Linked DNA regions of Homo sapiens: region 2 is linked to region 1. The links are contacts of gene promoters, found by promoter capture Hi-C in human tissues and cell types (Jung and others, 2019). All regions are on one chromosome and are shown on one strand. The core of a region is centred on a gene start or on the middle of the fragment in contact, and the rest is flanking DNA. Distances in the headings are between cores, read along the strand shown.

The links. The method cuts DNA at HindIII sites, captures the fragments that hold promoters and counts their contacts. A contact is called where the count stands out against the background at its distance.
Region 2: a contact is called between a fragment that was not itself captured here and the fragment with the promoter of CCDC83 in region 1, in 1 of the 25 tissues and cell types used here (H1 embryonic stem cells).

Annotation. Positions count from the first base shown.
Region 1 is chr11:85,850,704-85,858,170 of GRCh38, reverse strand. It overlaps CCDC83 (coiled-coil domain containing 83), which reads right to left and starts at 2,788. Exons shown (of 11, transcript NM_001286159.2): 1 at 2,587-2,788. It also overlaps a transcript of SYTL2 not described here and the pseudogene AHCYP6. The HindIII fragment of the contact is 10,338 bases long and covers 1-7,467 here.
Region 2 is chr11:85,609,006-85,616,472 of GRCh38, reverse strand. All of the region lies in intron 2 of DLG2 (discs large MAGUK scaffold protein 2), which reads left to right. Among named protein-coding and RNA genes, the nearest start is that of DLG2, 15 kb to the left of the region's middle. RefSeq lists a silencer at 6,921-7,121. The HindIII fragment of the contact is 3,716 bases long and covers 1,602-5,317 here.

The sequences.
Region 1 (7,467 bases), core at 1,539-4,038:
GGTGAAGGAGTTACTTATCAAGAAGCTGAGGTGGCCCATGGCACAACCCAGGTTGACCAGCTGACCCTCAGCTAGCAGGATGATGTGGTGTGCATTCTTCAGCTGATACCAGTCCACCTGGGGCTTGATGTTGACTCTCTCCACAGTATTCTTGTTGAGCCACTTGACATCAATCTCCATGTCAAAGTGTCCAGTGTTACAAATGATGGCATCATCCTTCATCTGCTTAAAGTGCCAGCCAAGGATGATGTTAACACAGCCTGTGGTGGTGACAAAGATGTTGTCCTCCTGACAGGCCTCGTCTATGGTGGCCACCTCATAGCCCTTCATGGCAGCCTGCAGTATGTTGATGGGGTCGATCTTGATGATGATGACATGGGCCTGAAACCCCACAGGGCCTGGGCACAGCCTTTGCCCATGTCGCCACAGCCTGCTACCACTGCTACCTTGCTGGCAATCATCACGTCTGTGGCCCACTTGATGCTATCTATGAGGGACTCCTGGCAGCCGGAGAGGTTGTCAAACTTGCTCTTGGTGACGGAGTTGTTGACATTGATGGCAGGCACTTTCAGGATCCCATTGGCCATCATCTTGTGTAGCTTGTGGACCCCAATCATGGTCTCCTTGAAGATGCCTCACATCCCCGACAAGAGCTGTGGGTACTTGGTGTGGATGAGGTTGGTGGGGGCCCAAGCGACATCCAGAATCACGTTGAGGAGGCCGTCTTTGAAGTATAATGTCTGCTTGGTGCACCACAGGTACTCCTCCTCTGTTTCGCCCTTCCAGGCGTACAACTGGAATGCCAGCCTTGGCAATGGCAGCTGCCTCATGGTCCTGGGTGATGTTGCAGCTGGACCACTGCAGCTTGGCACCCAGGGTAATGAGGGTCTCAATGAGGATGGCCATCTCCATGGGTCCTATGGAGGCAACTGGTGATGCGCGTGCCCTTCGAGGGCTTGGAGGGTTGAGTACAGCTCCCACATGCACGTCAGGCCCGGCATCTGGTTCTCCACAATATCCAGGGCTTTGCATCCCCAGAAGTCCAGGCCAATGTCAGTGACTTTGTAGGGCAGTTTGTCAGACATGCTGGTGGTGCTTGTGATAGACATGGCTGAAGGGGCCCAAGCCTCGATCTGGGGACAGGCACTGGGGGTATGGCACTGGGCAGGGGGTTCCCAGGTAGTTTATTCGTTTTGTGGCTACTGCAAATGAGATTGCACAGAACACATGTTTAACTTAATTAGAAATGGTCTCCAGTAAATGTTTTTAAAAATCCTGAATTAATTTAAAGCCATTCAGTGGTAATAGTACCACCTAAAACATTAATTTTAAAAATTGAGACCGCTTTTCATATTGATTATGTATATATGATAGGGACCAAAATTGTTAGTGTTAAAATGTAAAATTTGCCCGGTTTGGAAATATGTTAAAATCATATATTAAAATCAAGGTATTTAAAAATATCTAGATGAGTGACATTTTCAAGTTTCACTTGGACGACTGATGATGTACATTACATTAGCATGTATTTTCTTCACCAATCCTTTAGTCATGGCACATTTTTCTACTGCAGTACCCAAAGATATTGGAGTCTTAGCTTTAAAATTAGTCCGTCTTCTGATCCAGAGTTGCTAATATCAAATAGTTTGAACTGCAGTATATTACACTAACTTCTCTAGTAACCAGAACTACATTTTTTTCCCACTCTTACTGTCCTTCAGTTTTAGAATTATCAACAAAGAAAAGAAAAATAACTATGAAAATATTATTATGAGGATAAGGGAAAAATATGCAATAATAATGGTAGAGAACAAAAAGGCTTCTTTCTACCTTCAAATAGCAGTAGTGAGTCTAAAGAGGATCTTCTGGAGGTGGCTGTAAGGCAATCCATGAGCAATTATCACATAGACTGATAAATACCCAGTCATTATTTTTCCCCTCTGTCATCACAGGAATCTTTCTTTTCCTTTTTTTTTTTTTTTTTTTGGCTTAGATAGGGCACTTTTTCCCATCTCTTAATCACTTCCTCAACTCTCTCTCTTGCCCAGCAGAAAATTATGGGATAAGGAAGGGAGTGAGGCAACAACATGGCACTGTACAAATGTGACAAATTCATAAAAGAAACCAAGTGTTTTCTTTAGAAGAATGTTGTAGTATCCAGAGCAAGAAGTTGAAACCAATCTATGAATTGGGATATGAGGGTAAAAGACATCAATAACACACTTAGCACATATGAAGTACCTACAGCGGAAGAGCATTGCGCTGGTATTGAGAAGGATGCAAGAGTATGTGAGGTCCTCAGAAAGCATTCACTAGACTCAGAATTTGGTGAGAGAGGCACTAAGAGAAGCAAGACCGAGCTTAGTCCCAGCTCCTGCACAGAGTTGTATAACCTAGGCCAAGTCTCTGAACCTCTGACCTGTTTCCTCCTCCATCTGTCCTAGTTGCTGTCCGGGCTATGAGGCTCCAAACGCTTTGGGAAAACTGTCAAGTGATAAAGCCTCATAAGAATGGAAGGCATTCTTAGTCTGCTCTGCGTCTGCTGTGTGCTAGGGGCTGTGTGAGGGCACCGTGAAGGTTACAAACCTGAATCAAATTCAGAGCCTGCCTTTCGAGAGGGCAAATAATGTATCCAGGGGTTCTACCGCAAGGCGGAGAGATGGGTTAACATTCTGATCAGATTAAAAAGGCCTGCCCTCCTTCTCATCTCCTGGGTGGAGAAGAGGAGTGGGCCTATCAGAGCCCTTCCCAGCAGCTCCTAACGGCCCAAGAACGGCGCTTCGTGGACAAGACCAGGAGGGCGCGACCCCCAGGCTGATCTCGAAGCGGCGCAAGCCCAGGCCCGTGGAGAGTGGAGCCCGTGGAGGGTGGTCGGGGGGAAGCTTATAAAGTCTTCAGTGTCAGACTGGAAGGAGTCGGGGGCCAAGAAAAGAGGCCAGCCAGTCTCCTGACATCCCCTCCACAGCCTGCAGGGGCGGATACCCGGCCCTGGGCGGACAGCTCGCACTTCCTTTCAGCCCGCCGGCCAGGCCTACCGGCTCCACTGCAGCGGCTGCTGCGCCCTGCATTTCCAAGGCAACCGACGTCCTCCTCCCTACTCCCTCCCCACCCGCCCTAGCTTAGCCGCGAACGGCGGGCCGAGCGCGCCATCTGGTGGCGACGCAGGGAAGGGTCCCGGCCGAGCGCCCGCGCCGCCGCCTTGGTAGCAGCGGTAGCGCTCTCCCGCCTTCCTCCGCGCGGGATTTTCGGCGTCCCTCAGCCAGCTGGTCTCAAACGCTCACGCGCTCGTTGGCTCCCTTTAGTCGCAAGCCTGGAAGTTGGTGACTGTAGACACAGGGCCCACGGGCTTCGTGCTGTGACCGTGAGCAGGTCATTTGGATCTCAGAGTTTGTGTCTTCCGCTGTAAAATGAGACGCCTGGACTCGGTGGCGCTTTCCGCACAGTTCGGGGGACGGGGACGGGGCCTGGTTGTCTGGTGAGGCTTCTGCGCGCCTCTGTCCCGCTGCGCTCCTTCCACAATGGCGGCTTGTCTTCTTTCTACTTTCGTGCACTAATTCTTTGGTTTTAGCTCTTAATAAGAATGGCAGGTCCCTGGACTAAATGCTTACAGGGCAACTTCCTGCTGTATAAGTCCTTGATTCTGTTTTTCTTCTCGCTTTCCTTTTTTGTTCGTAAACCTAAAGAAAGGAATTTAAGTCCAGCATTTCCCACTCTTCGCTTTTTGCTGTTCTTTCCTCCGAGAGAGAAAAAGAAAATCCTACACGTACAGCCTTTAAAGTTCCTCTTTCCTCTCCTGCATTATTTCTCATTATCTGCCGCAAGATAATTTTCTTTTTTTGGTACTTGACACTGGCTTTGAACGGACAACTTTTTTTTTTTTTAATGAGTGGAAATATTCATTTATTCAGCACTTAGAAATAACAGTTCTTGATAATATTATGATTTATAATTTATACATGGTGTATTTTAATGAATTGCAGGTGTTTAAGAAATAAGTAATATAGCAGGGCGCGGTGGCTCATGCTTGTAATCCCTCACGCCTACAATCCCTCACGCCTGTAATCTCAGCAGTTTGGGAGGCCGAGGTGGACAGATTGCTTGCGGTAAGGAGTTTGAGACCAGCGTAGGCAACATGGCGAAACCCCATCTCTACGAAAAATTAGCCAGGCATAGTGGTGAGTGCCTGTAGTCCCAGCTACTTCGGAGGTGGAGGCCGAAGAATTGCTTGAGCCTGGAAGGCTGAGATCTCAGTGAGCCGAGACTGCCACTGCACGGGTGACAGAGCGAGCCTCTGTCTCAAAGAAAGAAAGAGTATGTACCTGGATATGTATTTTTATTTTTATTTTTATTTTTTACAGCTTAACGAGATTTTTTTATTTTCCTGACTTTTTGCTTTGGAGAATTAGTCAGTAGTTAAGGTCTATCTTGTTCGTTTACTATGGGGTTTGAATTTGAGATGGGGCTGACGTCACTTTGGGGCCCTTTTCTTTTCTTCTTTTTTTTTTTTTTTTTTATTGATCATTCTTGGGTGTTTCTCGCAGAGGGGGATTTGGCAGGGTCATAGGACAATAGTGGAGGGAAGGTCAGCAGATAAACAAGTGAACAAAGGTCTCTGGTTTTCCTAGGCAGAGGACCCTGTGGCCTTCCGCAGTGTTTGTGTCCCTGGGTACTTGAGATTAGGGAGTGGTGATGACTCTTAAGGAGCATGCTGCCTTCAAGCATCTGTTTAACAAAGCCCATCTTGCACCGCCCTTAATCCATTTAACCCTGAGTGGACACAGCACATGTTTCAGAGAGCACCGGGTTGGGGGCAAGGTCATAGATCAACAGCATCCCAAGGCAGAAGAATCTTTCCTAGTACAGAACAAAATGGAGTCTCCTATGTCTACTTTTTTCTACTCAAGACACGGCAACAATCTGATTTCTCTATCTTTTCCCCACATTTCCCCCTTTTCTATTCCACAAAACCGCCATTGTCATCATGGCCTGTTCTCAATGAGCTGTTGGGTACGCCTCCCAGACGGGGTGGCGGCCGGGCAGAGGGGCTCCTCGCTTCCCAGAAGGGGCGGCCGGGCAGAGGCGCCCCCGACCTCCCGGACGGGGAGGCGGCCGGGCGGAGGCGCTCCTCACTTCCCAGACAGGGTGGCTGCCGGGCGCAGGGGCTCCTCACTTCTCAGACGGGGCGGCTGCTGGGCGGAGGGGCTCCTCACTTCTCAGACGGGGCGGCCGGGTAGAGACGCTCCTCACCTCCCAGACGGGGTCGCGGCCGGGCAGAGGTGCTCCTGACTTCCCAGACTGGGCAGGCGGGCAGAGGGGCTCCTCACATCCCAGACGATGGGCGGCCAGGCAGAAACACTCCTCACTTCCCAGACGGGGTGGCGGCCGGGCAGAGGCTGCAATCTTGGCACTTTGGGAGGCCAAGGGAGGCGGCTGGGAGGTGGAGGTTATAGCTAGCCGTGATCATGCCACTGCACTCCAGCCTGGGCAACATTGAGCACTGAGTGAACGAGACTCCGTCTGCAATCCCGGCACCTCGGGAGGCCGAGGCTGGCAGATCACTCGCGGTTAGGAGCTGGAGATCAGCCCAGCCAACACGTGAAACCCCGTCTCCACCAAAAAAAATACGAAAACCAGTCAGGTGTGGCGGTGCGCGCCTGCAACCGCAGGCACTCGGCAGGCTGAGGCGGGAGAATCAGGCAGGGAGGTTGCAGTGAGCCGAGATGGCAGCAGTACAGTCCAGCTTCCGCTGGGTATCAGAGGGAGACTGTGGATAGAGAGGGAGAGGGAGACCGTGGGGAGAGGGAGAGGGGGAGGGGGAGGCAGACAACTTTCTTTTACATCCTAGGAGCGTCTATGTCCTGGTAGTTACATTTCAGTCAATTACTTATCCTTTTGTCCCAGGAAGACAGAAATGAGGCCCCTTTAGGCTTCCCTGCTCCCTTCGTAAGTCACCTGTTTGGCATTCTTGAATTTGTTTTTTAAAAAATGGATTATCATATTTTTTATTCATGCTGTGTTATATTAATAACGTATTAAGAACTTGAAGGGAACTGAAGCAGTTAATAAAAATATTAAGCAGCTTTTGGTTAAAGGAGTTTTTCTCATCAGTAAAATATACAAAAATTAATCATTGTTAGAGATAACTTACGTGTTCCACCTCATTTTAACCTCCCTTTAGTCTATCAGTATTGTGTTTATTAAGTGCCAGGAATTTGCTATGATCTACACATCTGATAAATGTTCTTCTGTTAACCTGGTTTTCCCTAAAATAACATCATCAGATGGGATTATAGGATAAAATTATTAAGAGTGCAAATTCAGGAGAAAAAGCTACCAGCGGAAAATTTTTAAAGCATGGAGATTTTTTAGTTAAATAGAAAAGCAATTTGTGATTCTTCAGCACTTTGAATTGATTCCCACATCATTTGTTTTAAATCTTAGGCCTGCTTCTATTATGAGAGCCTGGGCCCATAGTGAAAAAATGTACTTTTACCTATCATTTATATCCTGCACAGTTTTTCTTATAGTGTTTACCAGTTGGTGGTCAGTGTGAAGCCAGATAAAAACCATTTGCTGAGTTTCCTCATTTGACCTTGATTTTCTGTTAGCCTTGCCATGTTGAATGATGTAGAAATAGACGTAGGAAAGTATCTATAGTAGAAGAAGCCAAATATGCTGTCTGTTTTTGGAAAAACCACAAAGAACCTGTTTGAGATGAGCAATTGCTAAACAGAAACAACTGCAGGGTCTTATTATTATTAAATCTCACAATAATTTGTAAAGACCCGAACTAGGAATGAACTTACTGCCTTTGCGAACCAGTTCAAACTTTTGGTAAATCAGACATTTTACCTACAGCAGTTACTTTTGAGAAATAGAAAATTTTTGCTACAACTTCCTGTCCAATAACTTTGTTCCTCACAAACTTGAAACAATTAAATAGATGTTTTGCAAAAATAAATAATCATGAACTAAAATATTCTCTTTTTTTTTTATTATACTTTCAGTTTTAGGGTACATGTGCACATGGTGCAGGTTAGATACATATGTATACATGTGCCATGCTGGTGCGCTGCACCCACTAACTCGTCATCTAGCATTAGGTATGTCTCCCGATGCTATCCCTCCCCCCTCCCCCCACCCCACCACAGTCCCCAGAGTGTGATATTCCCCTTCCTGTGTCCATGTGATCTCATTGTTCAGTTCCCACCTGTGAGTGAGAATATGCGGTGTTTGGTTTTTTGTTCTTGCGATAGTTTACTGAGAATGATGATTTCCAATTTCATCCATGTCCCTACAAAGGACATGAACTCATCATTTTTTATGGCTGCATAGTATTCCATGGTGTATATGTGCCACATTTTCTTAATCCAGTCTATCATTGTCGGACATTTGGGTTGGTTCCAAGTCTTTGCTATTGTGAATAATGCCGCAATAAACATACGTGTGCATGTGTCTTTATAGCAG
Region 2 (7,467 bases), core at 2,210-4,709, 240 kb after region 1:
AAATTTAGGTAGAAAAAAGTTTTAATATCTCAAAGTACCAATCTCCCATGTGTAAAATACAGGTTACTTGCCTTCTTATGATGATGCCACCAAGATCCTGTGAAAATCATGTAATCCTTCTGAACTTGTTTCCTTTTAAAAAAGGGATTTAATGCTTTTTTCCCCCTTACTATATACTGTTTCTTTTTCCCATCAAATATGATAATGTTCATGAACTTCACTTTTACAAAGCTAGTTAGTGATGGAATTAGGACCAGAAGCTTGTCTGATGCTTTCCTTTTTACTGTATGAGTGTGGTAGTCTTTGAACAAGTGAATGGCATCATAGTGCAGTAGAGGAGAGCCCAGGATTGGAATCTAGCTTTTACCATCAGTTGACTACATTAAGCAAATCAACAGATAGAGCTTCAAATTTTTCCTGTTAAAACTTAAGTATAGTACTAATACCTCTTAGGATTATTGTGAGGATCAAATCAAGAGACCTAGACCATATAAAAATTATTTTGTAGATAAGAAACTGCTGTACAAAAGCTTATCATCTGAATGCATTTTTTTTTAGGGGGGTGGGTGGGTTCAAGGAGGAGAAATGTCAGAGTCCCCTTCCATCAGTGGTTTGGGTTCAGCTTCGTGGTCAGCTTCTGGAACAAGCCTGTCCAGATATGGCAATGATGCATTTGATCACAGATAGGAGATGCCATGCGTGTTTTTAAAAAAAACAGGTTATAACATTTCTTATTAAGATTATTTCTCCTCCAAAGATGCTAAAGTAATTTGTAAATCATCTAATATATACAAAATGATTGCAGTCTTCAGGTCTGCTTTAAGTCTTGCCATACATATTCTTCACTATTTAAATTCCAAATTTTATTTATTTATTTATTTTTCTAGATAAATAAATCTGGAATGATGCAAAAATCAGTATTTAGCTGAAGATGCAATTTTTAATCTTTTTTTTTTGAGATGGAATCTTGCTCTGTTGCCCAGGCTGGAGTGCAGTGGCATGATCTCAGCTCACTGCAACCTCTGCTTTCTGGGTTCAAGCGATTCTCCTGCCTCAGCCTCCTGAGTAGCTGGGATTACAGGCACCCACCACATGCCCAGCTAATTTTTGTATTTTTAGTAGAGATGGGGTTTCGCCATGTTGCCCAGGCTGGTCTTGAACTCCTGAGCTCAAAGTGATCCGTCTGCCTCGGCCTCCCAAAATGCTGGGATTACAAGCATGAGCCACATGCCTGGCCAATTCGTTGTTTTCTTACTTTCTGTTTACTGCTGCGTAGCCTTGCACATTTTCTATCATTCCCCTTTAACAAGTTTATAGAAAATTTGAAAGCATGGCTTGTCTGAAAGGAGAGATATAAATTTACCGTTTTATACTATTAATAATATCTTCTTGTTTCAACAGGGAAAATAACCAGATCAACAGGTGTTAGTTGAAGTATATTCAAACAATTCTTTTTTAGGGAGGGTAAAGTATAATTGCAAAGAATAATTATAGAAGAAAGAAGCATTGTGATCCTTTCCTAGTAAATCAAGTTTCAATATGGCATAATGCTTTGTATGGGCTTTGGTGGCAGATAGATCAGCATTTGCATTGTGGTTCCAGCACTTACTGTTATGTAGCCTTGGGCAAATGTACTCTATTTCCCTCAGTCTAAAATTTCCCCATTTGTGAAAATGTATATAGTAGTAGTTCTTAGGATTCTTTTGAAGATTAAATAAGGTGATCAGTGCAGAATGCCTAGCATTGTTCCACAAATGCTAGCTAATATTATTAGTAATAAAATGACACCTTTGTGGTATCACCTTGAACTGTACGTTTGTTTTATTTATTTGGAGATGGAGTTGCACTCTCGTTGCCCAGGCTGGAGTGCAATGGCGCCATTTTGGCTTACTGCAACCTCTGCCTCCCAAGTTCAAGCTGTTCTTCTGCCTCAGCCTCCTGAGTAGCTGGGATTACAGGCATGGGCCTCCATGCTCAGCTAATTTTGTATTTTTAGTAAAAACGGGGTTTCTCCATGTTGGTCAGGCTGGTCTTGAACTCCTGACCTCAGGTATCCACCTGCCTCAGCCTCCTCAAGTGCTGGGATTACAGGTGTCAGCCACCATGCCCGGCCGAACTATACATTTTAATGTTAATTTTTAAAAAAAAAAAAAAACCTGGTTCAAGACTAACTTTTCTGTTGCTATTCATTACTTTATTACTTTCTCATGAGTGTCCTTGATTTGTAAAAAAGCAATAACATCAACAATAAGAATTAAGCATATGTGAATACTTCTTAGTAAAATACTTTTGTGTCTGGAATGAGTGGATTCTGTCTTGTTGACTTCAGGAATGAAGCCACTGATACTCGTGGTGAGTGTTACAGTTCTTAAAGATGGTGTGTCCAGAGTTTGTTCCTTCTGATGTTTGGATGTGTCCAGAGTTTCTTCCTTCTGGTGGGTTCATGGTCTCGCTGACTTCAGGAGTGAAGCTGCAGACCTTCGCGGTGCATGTTACAGCTCTTAAAGGTGGCATGTCCAGAGTTGTTCATTCCTCCTGGTGGGTTTGTGGTCTTGCTGACTTCAGGAGTGAAGCTGCAGACCTTCACAGTGTGTGTTACAGCTCATAAAGGTGGCACATACCCAAAGAGTGAGCAGCAGCAAGATTTATTGCAAAGAGCGAAAGAACAAAGCTTCTACAGCGTGGAAGGGGACCCAAGCGGGTTGCTGCTGCTGGCTCGGGCAGCATGCTTTTATTCCCTTATTTGGCCCCACCCACATCCTACTGATTGGTCCATTTTACAGAGCGCTGCTTGTTCTGTTCTACAGAGTGCTGATTGGTCCGTTTTTACCAAGTGCTGATTGGTGCATTTACAAACCTTTAGCTAGACACAGAGCACAGATTGGTGCATTTACAATCCTTTAGCTAGACACAGAGAGCTGATTGGTGCATTTACAATCCTTTAGCTATACAGAAAAGTTCTCCAAGTCCCCACCTGACACAGAAGCCCAGCTGGCTTCACCTCTCAATCCCATCTCTAAACAGGACACCCCAATTGCTGTCGGGAATTTGGCCGATGACTGCTCTAGCTACTTTCTGCTGGATGGGGTGAAGAAGGGGCCCTGCAGTTGTGGTGTCCTCCAGAGGTTAACTCTTTAGGCCAGTGAAAGGACTGGTGGGTCAGTCCAGGGGTCCTCAGTAGAAGTTGTTAGTTGAGCTCATTTAGGGTTCCATTTGTAAGACCATCGGTAGCTTGATGGCCTCGATTCTAGAGGAAACAAATTTGACAAGCAGGTTAAAAATACAGGGCCCAAAGGCGAGTAACAGCAAGATGGCTGCCATGGGACCTAGAAAGGGGAGGAGCCATATTGCCCAACTCTAGAGGTTGGTAAGAGTTTGAAAGGCGTTTTCTGATTTCAGAAGCCTTTTCCTATAAACGCCGGACAGCATCTCATACTATCCCTGACTGGTTAGTATAAAAACAACACTCTACCCCTAAGAAGGTGCAGAGTCCTCCTTTCTCAGCAGTGAGGAGGTCTAGGCCTCGGTAGTTTTGGAGAGTCACTGCTGCCAAAGAGTCTGTTTGGGGTTGTGGTTACTATCCTTACTGGATAGATTTTGTTATTTCTTGCAAACTGTCTGAGAATTCCTGTGAGAGTGTGTGGTAGTAGGATAATGAAGTACATAAACCTGCTATTCCAGTTTCTGTAGCAGTAGCCATTCCTAACCCTATAAGTAGGGGTATTAGTTGTATGGCTCTGCGCTGATGGACTTGAGCTTTGAGGGGTACTGATAAGGTCTGATTTTCATAAGATTAGAAGTTAGGATAATATATGTTACACTGTAAACTTTTAGCAAACTTTACTTTTGTTGAAAACCTTGTAAGTTTGGGATTTCAATTATTCTTTGCTATTAGTAAGACCTCGTTCAGTCCATATTAACTTAAAATTGGTATAGATGGCTCCTTCCTGATTCTGTAAGTACTTTAAAGTTTGGCTGAGTGCAAACAGCTCGCACATTTGAGCAGACCAATTATTAGGCAATTTTCCTAACTCTGCTTCTACAAGAGTTTCCTCACTGAATATCCATTGTGTCTTTGTTTCCTTACTTGCCTGGGAGGAACCATCTATCATCCTGTCCTGAAGGGAGTTCCTCCTAGGTCTGGTCAGACCTTCGTATGATAATTAGTTAAGATTTAGATCCCTTGTTGGGAAACCTGCTGGGTTAAGGATTTTTGATAGGAAGGCTATGGGTTGTCAGTGGCCTCAGTGCTTTCGGGCTATGCCCTTGTTGACACTGACAACAAGGTGGTATTGGAGTGATATAGGGTTACAGAGAAGACCTTCAATTATCAATTATAGGTTTTAAATTTACCCTGACTTTTAAAGGAATAGGGTACACTGTTTTTTCTTTACTACTTCTATTTCTTTCTGTCTCTTTGACTCCTTTGTATCTTCCTCTCTTTCCTTCTCTCTTTGACTTTCAGTCTCTTCCTCTCTGTCTCTCTCTTTGACTTCCTATCTCTCTTTTTCTCTCTCTCTATATCTCTGTCTCTTCCTCTCTCTCTCTCTCTGCTGGTCTTTCCCTGCCTCTGCCAGCTGCTTATGCTGCTGTTCTCCCCTCTCCTTCCCCTTTTTGATGGCTTCGACAGTGTAAGACTGCCACCCCCTTGGGTTTTTGCACTGAGTGCAATAACTCCATGATTTCCTTGTGGTATTTAATGGGGGTTCCCCCAGAGGTTAGGAACTCCCTTTCTTTCCATATTGTAGCATAGGCATGTAGGATTAGATAAGCATATCTGCTATCTGTATACACATTTATTCTTTTTCCCTTTCCCAGTTATAAGGCTCGGGTAAGTGCCACTAGTTCTGCTAACTGGGCACTGGTCCCTGGGGGAAGAGGTTTACTTTCAAGTACGGTTACATCATTAACTATGGCATAACCTGCCCGTAGTATCCCATTCTCCACAAATGAACTTCCATCAGTCTAAGTGGACTTCTAAGAGATCATCTCGGGCGGCATAAGTTTGGACTATAAGTTTGGCAGTCATGCTGATTGGTTCCCCATCCTCTGGGAGAAAAGTGGCAGGGTTGAGGGCTGCACACATAGGTATTTGAAGCACCGGTCCTTCAAGGAGTAGTGCCTGGTATCTAAGTAGGCAGTTGTCTGATAGCCATAAACTTCCTTTGGCACCTAGTATGCCATTTACATCATGAGTAGTCCAGACAGTGAGATCTTTTCCTTGTATTATCTTGATAGCCTCTGACACTAAGATGGCCACTGCCACAACTACCCTTAAACAGTGAGGCCAGCCTTTTGCTACTACATCAATTTTCTTACTTAGGTATGCCACTGGTTGGGGGTTCATCCCATGAGCCTGCGTAAGGACTCCAAGAGCTATCCCTGCTGTCTCTGTGACATATAGAGATAAGTTTTGTCCTGTGGGAAGGCTTAAAGCTGGAGTTGTACTAGGGCCCGCTTTAAGGTTTTGAAGGCTGTTTCTGACCCTGGTTCTCATTCTACTAGATGAGTATTTGCCCTCTGGGGCTCCTTGATTAGAGTATAGAGTGGTCTGGCCATCTCGCTGTATCCGGGGATCCATAGTCGGCAAAAGCCCGTGATTCCAAGGAACCCCTGCAACTGTTTTAATGTCTTAGGGTGATGATAAGCCAGTATAGGCTGTATTCATTCCTTGCTGAGGGCCCTGGCCCCTCTGGCTAAGATTAAGCCTAGATATTCGACCTGCTGTAGGCAAAGCTGGGCCTTTGACCTAGATGCCTTGTACCCTTGATTAGCTAGAAAGTTCAAGAGATCTAGAGTAGCCTGTTGGCATGAGGCTTCCAAACTGGTAGCCAAAGGTAAATCATCCACATACTGAAGGGCCAGAGTGCCTGAACTTGAGAAGTGGCCTAGATCTTGGGCCAGTGCCTGACCAAACAGGTAAGGGCTATCCCTAAACCCGTGGGGCAAGATCGTCTGTGTAAGTTGGGATGTGTGGTCTGTGGGGTCCTCACAGGCAAAGAGAAACTGGGAGTCAGAGTGCAGGGGAATACAGAAGAAGGCATCCTTGAGGTCCAGAACAGTGAACCATTCTGCTTCCTCTGATATTTGAGAGAGCAGGGTATAGGGGTTGGGTACAACTGGATATAGAGGAATTATTGCCTTATTGATGAGTCCAAGATCTTGCACTAGTCTCCACTGACCATTCAGTTTTTGTACTCCTAGAATTGGGGTGTTGCAGTCACTGCTGCATTTCCTTACTAAGCCTTGAGCTTTTAAATGTTTAACAATATCTTGTAATCCTTTATGAGCTTCAGGCCTTAAGGGATGTTACCTTTGATAAGGAAAAGTGGTGGGATCTTTTAGCCTGATTTGGACTGGGCGGGCATTTTTTTCCTTCCAAATTATCCTTCCAATGCCCAGACTTCAGGGTTGATTCCCTTCTCAAGTAGGGGACAACAAATGGATAACTTGTTCCCCATATTCATGTAAATAATAGCTCCAGCTTTGGCTAATATATCCCTCCCTAATAAGGGTGTGGGACTTTCAGGCATAACAAGAAAGGCATGTGAAGAGAGCAAAGTCTCCCAATTACAACTGAGGAGGTGGGAGAAATACCTGGTTACAGACTGTCCCAGGATTCCCCGGATGGTAACGGACCTTGAGGACAGTCGTCTGGGACAGGAGATTAACACTGAGAAGGCCGCACCAGTGTCCAGGAGGAAGTCAATTTCCTGGCCCTCAATGGTTAAACGTATCCGGGGCTCAGTGAGGGTGATAACATGAGCTGGTGCTTGCCCCAGGCACCCTCAGTCCTGTTGTTGGGTCTTCTTATTGGGGGTTACTGGCCCAGAGAACCTCTGCACTCTGTGGCAGTGCACCTTCCAGTGATTGCCTCAGCATAGCAGACATGGACGAGGGGGCAGCTTGTTTCTCATTGGACAATCTTTTTTAAAGTGTCCTTGTAAACCACACTGATAACAAGCCCTACCGAGTGATTGGCCTGCTCCATTTTCTGACCTCTTTGAACCACCAAAGTTTGTTTGTCTGAGGGCCATGACTAAGGCTGTGGTCTTTCTCTGATTTCACTTTTCCTTTTGGGCCTGTTCCTCTTGGTCCCTATTATAGAACACTGAGGTTGCCTGGTTTAATAATGCCTCCAGATTTTGTTCAGGGCCCAGGGCTTGCTTTTGGAGCTTTCTCCTGATATCTGCAGCTGATTGGGTAATAAATGTATCTTTTAGAATCAATTGACCCCGTAGTGAGTTGGGTGACAGGGGAGTATATTTTCTTAAGGCCTCCCGTAGCCACTTGAGGAAGGCAGAAGGATTTTCTTCCTTTCCCTGAGTTATGGTGGACATCATTGAGTAATTCATGGGCTTTTTCCTAATTCTCCTTAGTCCTTCTAGAACACAGGTCAACAGATGTTTATGACTCCAGTCCCCATGATCTGAGTCAGGGTCCCAGTGGGGATCCATACTGGGGATG